Regions from separate parts of the Homo sapiens genome. Here region 1 is linked to region 2. Evidence: promoter capture Hi-C in 16 types of primary human blood cells and fetal thymus (Javierre and others, 2016). All regions are on one chromosome and are shown on one strand. The core of a region is centred on a gene start or on the middle of the fragment in contact, and the rest is flanking DNA. Distances in the headings are between cores, read along the strand shown.

What was found. The method cuts DNA at HindIII sites, captures the fragments that hold promoters and counts their contacts. A CHiCAGO score of 5 or more calls a contact.
Region 1: a fragment that was not itself captured here is called in contact with the fragment with the promoter of NSMCE3 in region 2 in 2 of 17 cell types (non-activated CD4 T cells and activated CD4 T cells); the score reaches 12.4 in non-activated CD4 T cells.

What each region holds. Positions count from the first base shown.
Region 1 is chr15:31,867,307-31,872,081 of GRCh38, forward strand. OTUD7A (OTU deubiquitinase 7A) reads right to left here and starts at 3,367. Exons shown (of 13, transcript NM_001382637.1): 1 at 3,201-3,367. RefSeq lists silencers at 540-834, 3,330-3,399. The HindIII fragment of the contact is 3,736 bases long and covers 1,393-4,775 here.
Region 2 is chr15:29,267,276-29,272,237 of GRCh38, forward strand. NSMCE3 (NSE3 component of SMC5/6 complex) reads right to left here and starts at 2,547. Exons shown (of 1, transcript NM_138704.4): 1 at 1-2,547. The coding sequence starts at 2,430. The coding sequence ends at 1,516. The region is part of intron 2 of ENTREP2 (endosomal transmembrane epsin interactor 2); the gene reads right to left. RefSeq lists enhancers at 1,842-2,343, 2,344-2,843. The HindIII fragment of the contact is 8,019 bases long and covers 1-4,043 here.

The DNA of each region.
Region 1 (4,775 bases), core at 2,011-4,510, 2.6 Mb after region 2:
GAAATTTTGAGGCCAAGAGCCCTTCCCATCTCATTTAGGCACGTCATGGAAATAAATGTGGCACCATCAGAAGGTCAGAGGCCATGACTTGCACACAGCTTGCTCAGAGCAAAGTGCCCCTTCCCTCCTCCACCAGGCTTGGGGGCCACAGGAATTACTTCCTAAGTGGACATCCGCCACCTATAATTCAGTGCAAGGGGTCAAATAGGCCCCTCTGGGAAGTACTACCACACAGGGTCCCAGGGCCTAAGTCAATCGGGAGTCAAAGCCAGGAGCAAACATCAAGGGTGTGCAGGAGAGGATTTCCACGGGGTTGCCCTGGCTGGCACATTCACGCCATGACCAGGACACCAGCCTGTAGTTCACTGAAGTCAACTTTCTCCTCTCCAAACTAACACTCACTTCCGCAGTCTGAGAAGGCACTCAATCCTGAGACTCAAAGTGTGCTAAGAGCCACCTTCCAAAGACATGGAGCCACTGAAGCAATCTCTGCTAGGGAGGCCTACATTCCAGACTCCACAACCTCTGGTCATTCAAGTATGTGCCCCCAACCCTTCCTTAAGTTTCCATCTCTTGGAAGACAGGCATGCGGGAGCGGAGGGGGAGGGGCGGGGGGCGGGGGCGGAGCACACCGGCGCACACACATGCACCCACCTCAACTTGGAGATCCACTCCCAAGGTGGCTCTGACACAGGCCCGCCAAGCCGCGTTTAGCACGCCCCCTGCTGGCCCACAAGAGCTAATTCAACCTTTCTTCCGTGGGCCTAAGGCATGAATAAATGACCTTAATATCCCAAAGGGAACAGAAAGAAAATCAGGGCAATTTTTACTTCTTAGAAACGGAAGATGTGACAGTGATCTCTTTTGGGAAATCACTGACAACTCCCAAATTTAAGCACTCTAAACATACAAGCGGGATGAAGAGGCTTTAAAGCGGTTGTTTTAAAATGTTTTGGGGAAATAAGTGACCCATACCTAAAGATTTAGTGGAAACACTTCCGTTTGAAGTTTTACTAGTACTACAGCGAGTTAAACCATAAACGTGGTGAATATTTTCACGAGTCTACAGGTGAAAACAAAAAGATGGATACGGGGCCAGATTGATTTCACAGACTCCATTTTCAAAGAGTTTGCAATGCAGACCCTGAAAAACCAATCTTCATACTATTGAGGACATGTTGTAAAGAAGAATCTCTGCCACAACTCAAGAGTTAAGTTCTACAGCAACTACACACAGCGGGAGCAGTGTCATCCAAAAGCAGCTCACTTGGAGCCAGTTTCTCATCTCACTTAGGCACACCATTGGGAATAAATGCGGCACCATCAGGAGGTCAGAGGCCAAGAATTACACACACTTGCTCAGAGAAAGGTGTCCCCTCTCCTTCTCCACCAAGCTTGGGGGCCTCAGGAGTTACTTTCTAAGGGAAAACCTGCCATCTATGATCCAGGCCCAAGTGAGACCCGCACGTGGCAATACTTCGTAAAGCGGCGATTTCCACCCATTATCAGCCTGAACACTAAAGGCCTAAGTAACCACTGTTTTCCCATTCTTTTCACACCAATACAGGGTTCAAGAGATTGAAGTTCCTAACCAGGTCCCAACTTTTGAGTGGCATATGGTATTAAATTCCTTACAGATCCAATAAAATCACACTAACAATTTAAGGCATGCTTATTTTAACCAATTAGGAGGTGTCATTAATTATTAAATACAAAAATGTCAATACTTTTGTCCCTTATTGGATATCCTTTCGATATGATAGGCTTGAGTAGATACTCAGATTGCCTTGGGAACTTGCTTAGTTTTGTTCCCATAAGAATTGGTACTAATGGCACACTCACAATAAAATAATGGAGTGTTGATCCCATTTAGTGGGGAATGTTTATCCAGAACTGAGTGTGCCGTGCAGATCTACCTCTGTTCTCGTGAACCCTCTTTGGGTCTTGAAGAGGCCTTTGAAGCTGGTGGGACACACGGCTGCTGGGAGGACCCTAGTGAACCTGCCTCCCCGCCTTCGCCCAGGGCAGGCTTCTCCGGGCACACCCTGGAGGAGGAGGAGGAGGATGGTGAAGGACACCTGCAGATTTTCCTGAAGCAATTAAGACCTGTAAAGATTTAGGCCCCGCTGTCAACCTTTTCCTGGACACATTATCTGCCTCATCATATTTTTAAAAATTGTTCCTCTTACAGCCCACTTCCATTTACAAAGGTATCACCTGGCGGTAACCATGTGCATGTCATACATGACTTTCCCCTGGATCCTTGTGCTGTGGATGAAGCGTTTCCCTGATCGGGGTCTCACAAGTTTCCCTTCAGCTACTCTTAAATCTATACATTCTCAAGCCAATAGACAGAAATAAAAGTCATTTGCACTTGTGTGAGGTAGCTGAGTTTACAGAGCAGAGGCAAATCCATTTTATTACAGAGATTCTCAAAGGGCTGCAATAGCTTCACCGGGAGGGAGGAGGGTACACTTGAGCGGTTGTGTCCAATGAAGGAAAGTTTTAGTTAATGATGACATCACTGACATCTCCCAAATTTAAAGGAGCACTTAAAGCACCGCAGATGCAATTTTTTCCCCTCCAGTGAGGAGATACTAGGGAAGGCCTCTGGGTTCACAGCCAAATTGCCTTAATGGTTTGCCTGCTGTCCAGCGAGACCCAGCAGAGCGAGCGGGACGGCGGTGCGCCGGGCCGCGGGGACCCACGCAGTCACAGCTCCGGTGCCCGGCGAGCGGCCTCGCGCGCGGCTCGGGGCCGGGCCCTGCCCGGCCGTCTGCAAGAGCCGCGGGACCCCCGACGCGCGCGCACGGACCGAGGGGTCGGTCGCCCCACGCCTGGCATCACGTTCCAGTGCGGACAGCCAAAGGGCTGAGCGGAGGCAGCAGCCCCGACCCAGCGGTAGCGCCGCGCCCTGCCCGAGAGAGGCGCGCCACGCCGGGCCGGAGCCGGTGGCCCGGGAGCCCGCGGGGTCCGGAGCGGAGCCCGCAATGCAGACGCGCCGGCGAGCCCAGCCGGGGCCCGCGCCCCCCGCGTCCCCGCGCCCCGGCCCCGCGGTCGCCCGGCCTCAACGCCCACCTGCCTCGCCACGGAGCTCGGGAAGGAGACGGCGCCGGCCCCGCGCCCGGAGAGCGCACCTGCCTGGTCCGCGGGCCCGGCCCCGCCGCCCGCCGGCAGCACCGCGGCCAGCGCCGTCTTACCTGCCGCGCCGCGCCGCTCCGCTCCGCCAGCCCGCAGCGCCGCAGTCGCCGCTACCCGACTTCCATTTTCTCTCGCTTTAAAGGAAAACCAGATCAGCTGTTTTGCTCCCGCTCGGGCTCCGCGGCCCCCTCCCCAGCTGCCGCTCGCGGTCCCGGTGGCCTCTCCTCCCCCGCCTCCTCCCGCGCTCCGCTCCGCCCCTCGCGCCCCTCCGCTCCGCCCGCGGCCGCGCACAACGCCCGCCTCCCGGCTCCGCCTGCTGCCTCCGGGCGCGCGCCCTCCTCTGACGTCACCGGTCGCGTTCGCGCCCCGCCCCCGCCCCGCGCGGACGTGCGCGCGCCGCGCCTGTGCCCCGCCCCCGCCCCTCCGGGGCCGGGCACGGAGAGCGCGTGCTCGCGGCCGCGAGCCGAGGAGGGGACGTACAGCGCCCGCGCGCCCGCGAGCCCGCTCCGGCTCTCCCATGCTTGCCCCTCGGGGTGCTCCTTCTGCGCTCTCCGCCTGGACTGCAGGAAAAGGCTGCTTAAACAGCCTGCCTTTTCCTGCTGCCTGACTCGCGCCATCTGCGGCCACCTGTCTCGTTTCTTCCCCCTGGCTGGCGCACCCTTCCTTCCTAAACATCCCAAACTTTCTCCCACCCAGGCTGTCCAGGCTGCAGTTTCTACGCCCTGCGCTGGGGCCTGTGCATCACGCCTAATCCAAAGCTGGTCCTTTTACCTCCCAAAAAGGTTCTCTGACCTTTTCCCATTTTTTGCCTTCCTCTAAAGACTTTTTCACGCCACCCCTTCAGATGGTTCCCCTCCCTGATGGCAAGACCTGCTCGCTGCTCTGGGCCCTTCTCACGTCACCCTGTAGATGTAGTCACGCTTCCTTATCCCAAACAGGACGTTATATTGCAGATGACCCATACCATCCTGGTGTACTTCTAAACAATCATTATTTTACTTTTAGTTTAGGACTTTTTGCTTGACTTTAAACATTGTATATGTTTAATAGTGTTTAATAATTTATTTGACTTTTAAAATTGATATTCAGTAAAATTGGTTATTTGATATATAATCCTGTGATCTTGAACCCTTGTTTGGATTCATGTAACCACTAGCGCAATAAAGAGCTCCCTAGTTCTGCCCTTTTATAACAGCGCCCCCGCCAACCCTAACTTTTGGTAACCACTGATAGGTTCTCCATTGCTACGGTTTTGTCTTTGTGAGTGTGTCGTATACATGGAATTACGCAATATGTAACATTTTGAAACTGACTTTATTCCCTCATCATTATACCTTGGAGATTCATCCATGTTATTGTGTATAGTAATAGTCCTTTTTATTGTTGAGGGGAGTCTCATTATTTGTACCACATTTTGTTTAGTCACCCACTGGAGAATATTTGCGTGGTTTCCAGTTTTTGGCGACTGTGAATAAACATTCTATAAACATTTGCATGCAGCGTTTTGTACGGACAAATTTTTTAAATTAGTTGACTAAATATCTAGGAGTGCAATTGCTAGATCTTATGGTAAATTTGTTTAACTTTATAAGAACCAAACAGTTTTCTAGAGTGGCTATAGCATTTTTATAACT
Region 2 (4,962 bases), core at 1,297-3,796:
CCTAAAACAATTAACTTATTTGCCCACTGAATAAAACGTGTTGAATCTCTGCATTAAAAACAGCATCTGCTACACGTAATGGAGGAACACAATGGGACTATGAACTCTTCTAGTTCATTTAGTGCATAAAACTATTATATAGCTATTATTTTTCTCATTTTACAGATAAATTGAGATTCAGAGAGCTTAAAACCTACCCCCACAACCACCATGCTGACAAGTTAGCATGAGCCGTAATTCAAATTCAGTTTGCCAGACAGCCCCAAGACCCATACCCTTTTCCCTATACCTAACTCCCTAGGAGGTAGATCTTATGTCCTGCTCTTATGTTCTATGTGGGGCACACTCACCATACACGTTATATTTCCCCATACAATAGAGTGAGACTAGAGGACTATCTTTTGAACCAGGAATTGCTCTCCTAGGAATGATTTGGAAAAAAAGATAAAGAAAAGTTATATTTAAAAAGTGGCAGCTCCAGACCAAGGAGAATAAAAAATAAAAACATTAAAGAATAACAAATAAAATTCTCCACATCACGGACTAAAACCATTTTACAGGTCAAGAAACATCTGCATACAAACTAAGGAACCTATGTAAATTCATATACTAGTTATGGTGGGGCCAGGATCTCAACCCAGACAGTCCGATTCCCAAACAGGCATGGTTAATGGTTACGCTATTGTTTTATAAGCCTTTTTGAGATCCACAGTGAGAAATATATTTCACCTCATGATCCTGATTTTGTTTCACACAAAAGTGAAACAACTTCTACAAAACAGCATTGACCTTAATATGTAGCAAAAACTTTAAGATGTTGATTTCCAGTCATGAAATTCTCTCATGACCCACGATTTAAAAAACACACAATGCTTAAGTGCTTCAAAAATACAGTATTTATTGTAATAACTACAGTAGCAAGAAGAAAAAAACGAAGTGGAACTACGTGTTTAGCAGCAGAGCTGAATAATTATGAATATAAACAATTACTATTGGGAGAAAATACATTACACTCATTGCTTGGAACCATGAATAATACTTATATATGTACGAAATATAGAAAAATAAAATAGGTTAACATAATAAGGATATAGGCAATTATTTTTTTTAATTTTATAAAAACTTTTATTTTTCCTTACAAACTGGGGTAGTTAGGAGACCTGATAATAGCTTTTTTATTTTCTTGGCACCAAAGCAACTTACTTATGTGTTCCTTCTTGCATTATCTGTTCCAGATCATAGTCAAGTTTTCCAATTCGTTTTACTAAGCTAGCAAAATTTTTTATACCAAAAAGAGTAAAATCAAAACAAATGCTCCTTTGTTTATAGATGAAAATCTGGAGCAAAATAACACAACATTAAAAAAACAAAACTTTGCAAACACATCCTAAAGCTACACACATTGAAGCGTTTACAGCAATATGCTCCCTGGGTTCGTTCTCCCTTCCCCCAATCCTCTAAACTGTGCCTTTGGGTCTCAGACCCTTGTCCCGGGGGTCCCTCTGAATCCACCTTTCAAGAGGATGGAGCTGGGCCACTAGGCTGAGGTCTGGCCCTGTTCTCCTCATCTGCCAAAGCCTCACAGTACTGCGCTGGCCAGTCCTTGGGGTCTTGATTATGGACCTTGGCCACAAACTTAAGAACTTTCATCTTGCTGGTTTCCAGGTTGGTTCGCGGGCCCCACTGGAATTCGTAGTCGACGGGGTCGGTGTGGGGTATCCGCCGGTATTCCAGGTAACGCTGTCGCACAAAGTCCTCAGTAATGAGTTTCTTTGGATCTCCGAAAATTAAATGCTTCTTGGTGGGGTAGACCCCTAAGCGCCGCAGAAAGTCCCAGGCTTCAGTTTCCTTGATGGTGTTGCCCTTCATAAAGATGAGCCCTAAGACGATCATCAGGAGGCCCGTAGTGGGCGTGCCTTGGTCACCCCTCATCTCGGCATCCTCCTCCACAGGCTCCAGGGTGTTGATGAGGATGTAAGTGTTGCTCTTGGGTTCAAGTTCCACCAGCTTATACCCGAAGACGTACTGGAGGCGCTCGGCGGCCCGTTTGAAGAGGTCGGGGAAGATGTCCTTGTAGTCCCCGATGACGTGCTTCAGTATGTCGGCCCGCTTGATCGGAATCTTCTTCTGGTCTTTAATCAGCAAGAACTGCACCAGCTCGGACACTTTCAGCTCCAGCTGCTTCTGGCTCCTGGGCCCCACGGCGGGGGCGGCCTGGGCCCGGCGGGCGCCCTGAGGCGAGGGGCCCTGCGACCCCTGCGAGCCGCCCGGCCCGCGGGACGTGCTCGGGGCCTCCTCGGCAAAGCCGTCTCTGAGAACCCGGGCGTCTTCCCCGGCCCGCGAAGCCCCGGGGTTTCCGCTATGGCTCCAGTCTCTGTCCCTCTCGGCCTGGCCGCCAGAGCGGCCCCGGTTCCTCGGTTTTTGCAACATGTCTCCGGCGGCAGGTGCCGGCGCACACTCCGGTAGGCAAGCAGCCGCGGCGGGGATTGCGGGTCGGCGACCCGCTAACGCCGGTGCCTGGAGGCGCGCGCAGTGTCGGCTGAGACTGCGTGCTGCGTCATGAAGCCTGCGCCTTGCGTCAGGGCGGCTGGGCGGTGCGCCTGCGCGGCTGCGGCGGGTACCAAAAGGAACAGCGTTTTCCGTGCAGCCCTGCAGGTCCGGGCGATGATTTTTAGTATAGTGAAGTGTTGTTACCAAACCATGCAAACAGAGAGCGAGAACCGAAACTCCTAAACAAGTGTGTCGCTAAATTCAGACCACACAGGCTCAGGCAAGTTTTACAGACAGTATTATGAGTTTCTAAATCGGGAGCATTTGTAAACGGAAAGAATTCAGAGGATGAACGTGTGAGAAAAAAAAAAGGTGAAGAGGAAGGGCCGACCGTGGAAGTAAAGTAAAAACATTTATTTCTACACAAAATGTAGAAGGACATAAAAGACCCAGAGGGCTCTTAGTTTTCGTCCCTCCACCCAATTTCATACCCTCCATCCCACTGCCCCCAGTTACTTTCTCTAATGCCCCGTGGAGTCTGTTAAAAACCAAAGTCGGCTGCAGGCTTTCTGCGCAAGCAGGACTTCAGTTTCACTATTTCCGTATTTATATTCTCTGCATTAAACTCCTTTAGCTAGACAACTATGAGAAGACCACAAAAAACGTGTCAGTATTAGGTAAATGTTTTAGCTTGGTCACATGGGTTTATCTTTTGGAAAACAACTGCTTTCGTCACAACCACAATTTTAGCAGAAATGGGTAAGAGGAATGCTGCAAACAAACGTGCACTCTCAAGAGATTACTACTTAATTTGGGGCATCACTGATCAAGAATTGCAATAATGTGGAGCTCTTAAATTTCTTAATTCATAATATATTAGCTTTGAGGAAAAAAAAGAGAACACTGGGGGATTTATCTCTCATCTATGATGTGATATACAGTCTCTACTGTATATTTTAATTGTGCAACTCAAGTAGCCAAAATGAGTCATTTCATTAACTCAAACCATCAGCAGTCTGCTGCCATGACTTCTACAGATCTTAGCAAATTTGTTTCTTCTCTATTTACTTGCAAAGAAGAAACTGAATTTCCCTGTGTCTTTTTAAAGCTACCCAGAAAGTGGATAAACTCTTCAAAGAACCAAATTGAGTTCCTCTTTAATGCAAATATATTCAAAGGAAAGCAATTTAGAACACATTATCTGAGTAATAGCATCAAACACAACCTTATTAAAATTTTGTTAATTGTTAGTAGCATAACACTTTTGTTTGTAATTCAGTAGGAAAATGCAATCTGATAATGGCACTGGAACTGCAATAGTAAATGTAAAATCATATTCCATGAACTAATGCAAGTATGCTAAAATCTGGTATGCAATGAGTAATAACTTACTGTTCCACACAAGATGCAACTATATCCTCAGGCATCAATTTTAATGACAAAGGCCTACTATGAAAAACAAATATATTATCAAGGCATTCATTTTTTTACAATGAGAAAATTCATCTGCTTCAGTTTCCTTGCAAATTAAAATCTGGACTTAGGTTCATAGAAGCTTCCTGCCATCTAGAATTCTGCAAAAGGTCCCTACTGCAGGATGTGGATGTTGTATTGAGGGAATAGAGAGACCGTCTCATATTGTTTTATATTGTTTTATACTCAGTACCTGTTTTAAGAAAAAACAACAAGGAAGTAAAACCAAATACAGGCAGCCCAGCGCCAGGCCCAAAACCAGGCCTGGGCCTGCCTGGCCTAAACCCAGTAGTTAAAAATCAACTCATAACTTAGAAACCGATGTTATTCATAGATTCCAGACATTGTATAGAAGAACATTGTATAAAGAACAGAACTGCCCTGTTCTGTTTCTCTCTGACCACCGGTGCATGTAGCCCCTGTCACATACCGCCTGCTTGCTCTGATCAATCACGACCCTTTCATGTAAAATCTTTAGTGTTGTGAGCTCTTTAAAGGGACAGAAATTGTGCATTTGGGGAGCTCGGATTTTAAGGCAGTAGCTTGCCGATGCTCCCAGCTGAATAAAGCCCTTCCTTGTGCAACTCGGTGTCTGAGAGATTTTGTCTGCGGCTCGTCCTGCTACAGTGCCTTGAGTCAAAAAAGTTCAGTGACCGAGATATAAGGGGAAAGTGGAAAATTAGATAAAAGCTATTGTCAACAGTTGGGCTGGTTTTTCAGTGCTCTTTCTTGCTAAGGTATTCATGTACGTTACCAAGCAGCCCACCAGTCAGACTACCCCTGTCACTGTGAAAATCAGCAGTGTCCTCCAGCAGCACGCTTACCTAGATAGCAGACTGTCATTACTCAAGATAGAGGAGAAGAGATACCAGTTTTTAAGTCTCAAAACATCTCTCTACACTCTTTCCAGAAGAATGCAGGTGAGAAAATGCAGACATAAAATAAGAGTATTAGAATGAAGTTTTAGGCCCTGCATGGAGAAGTCATCCAGACCCACAT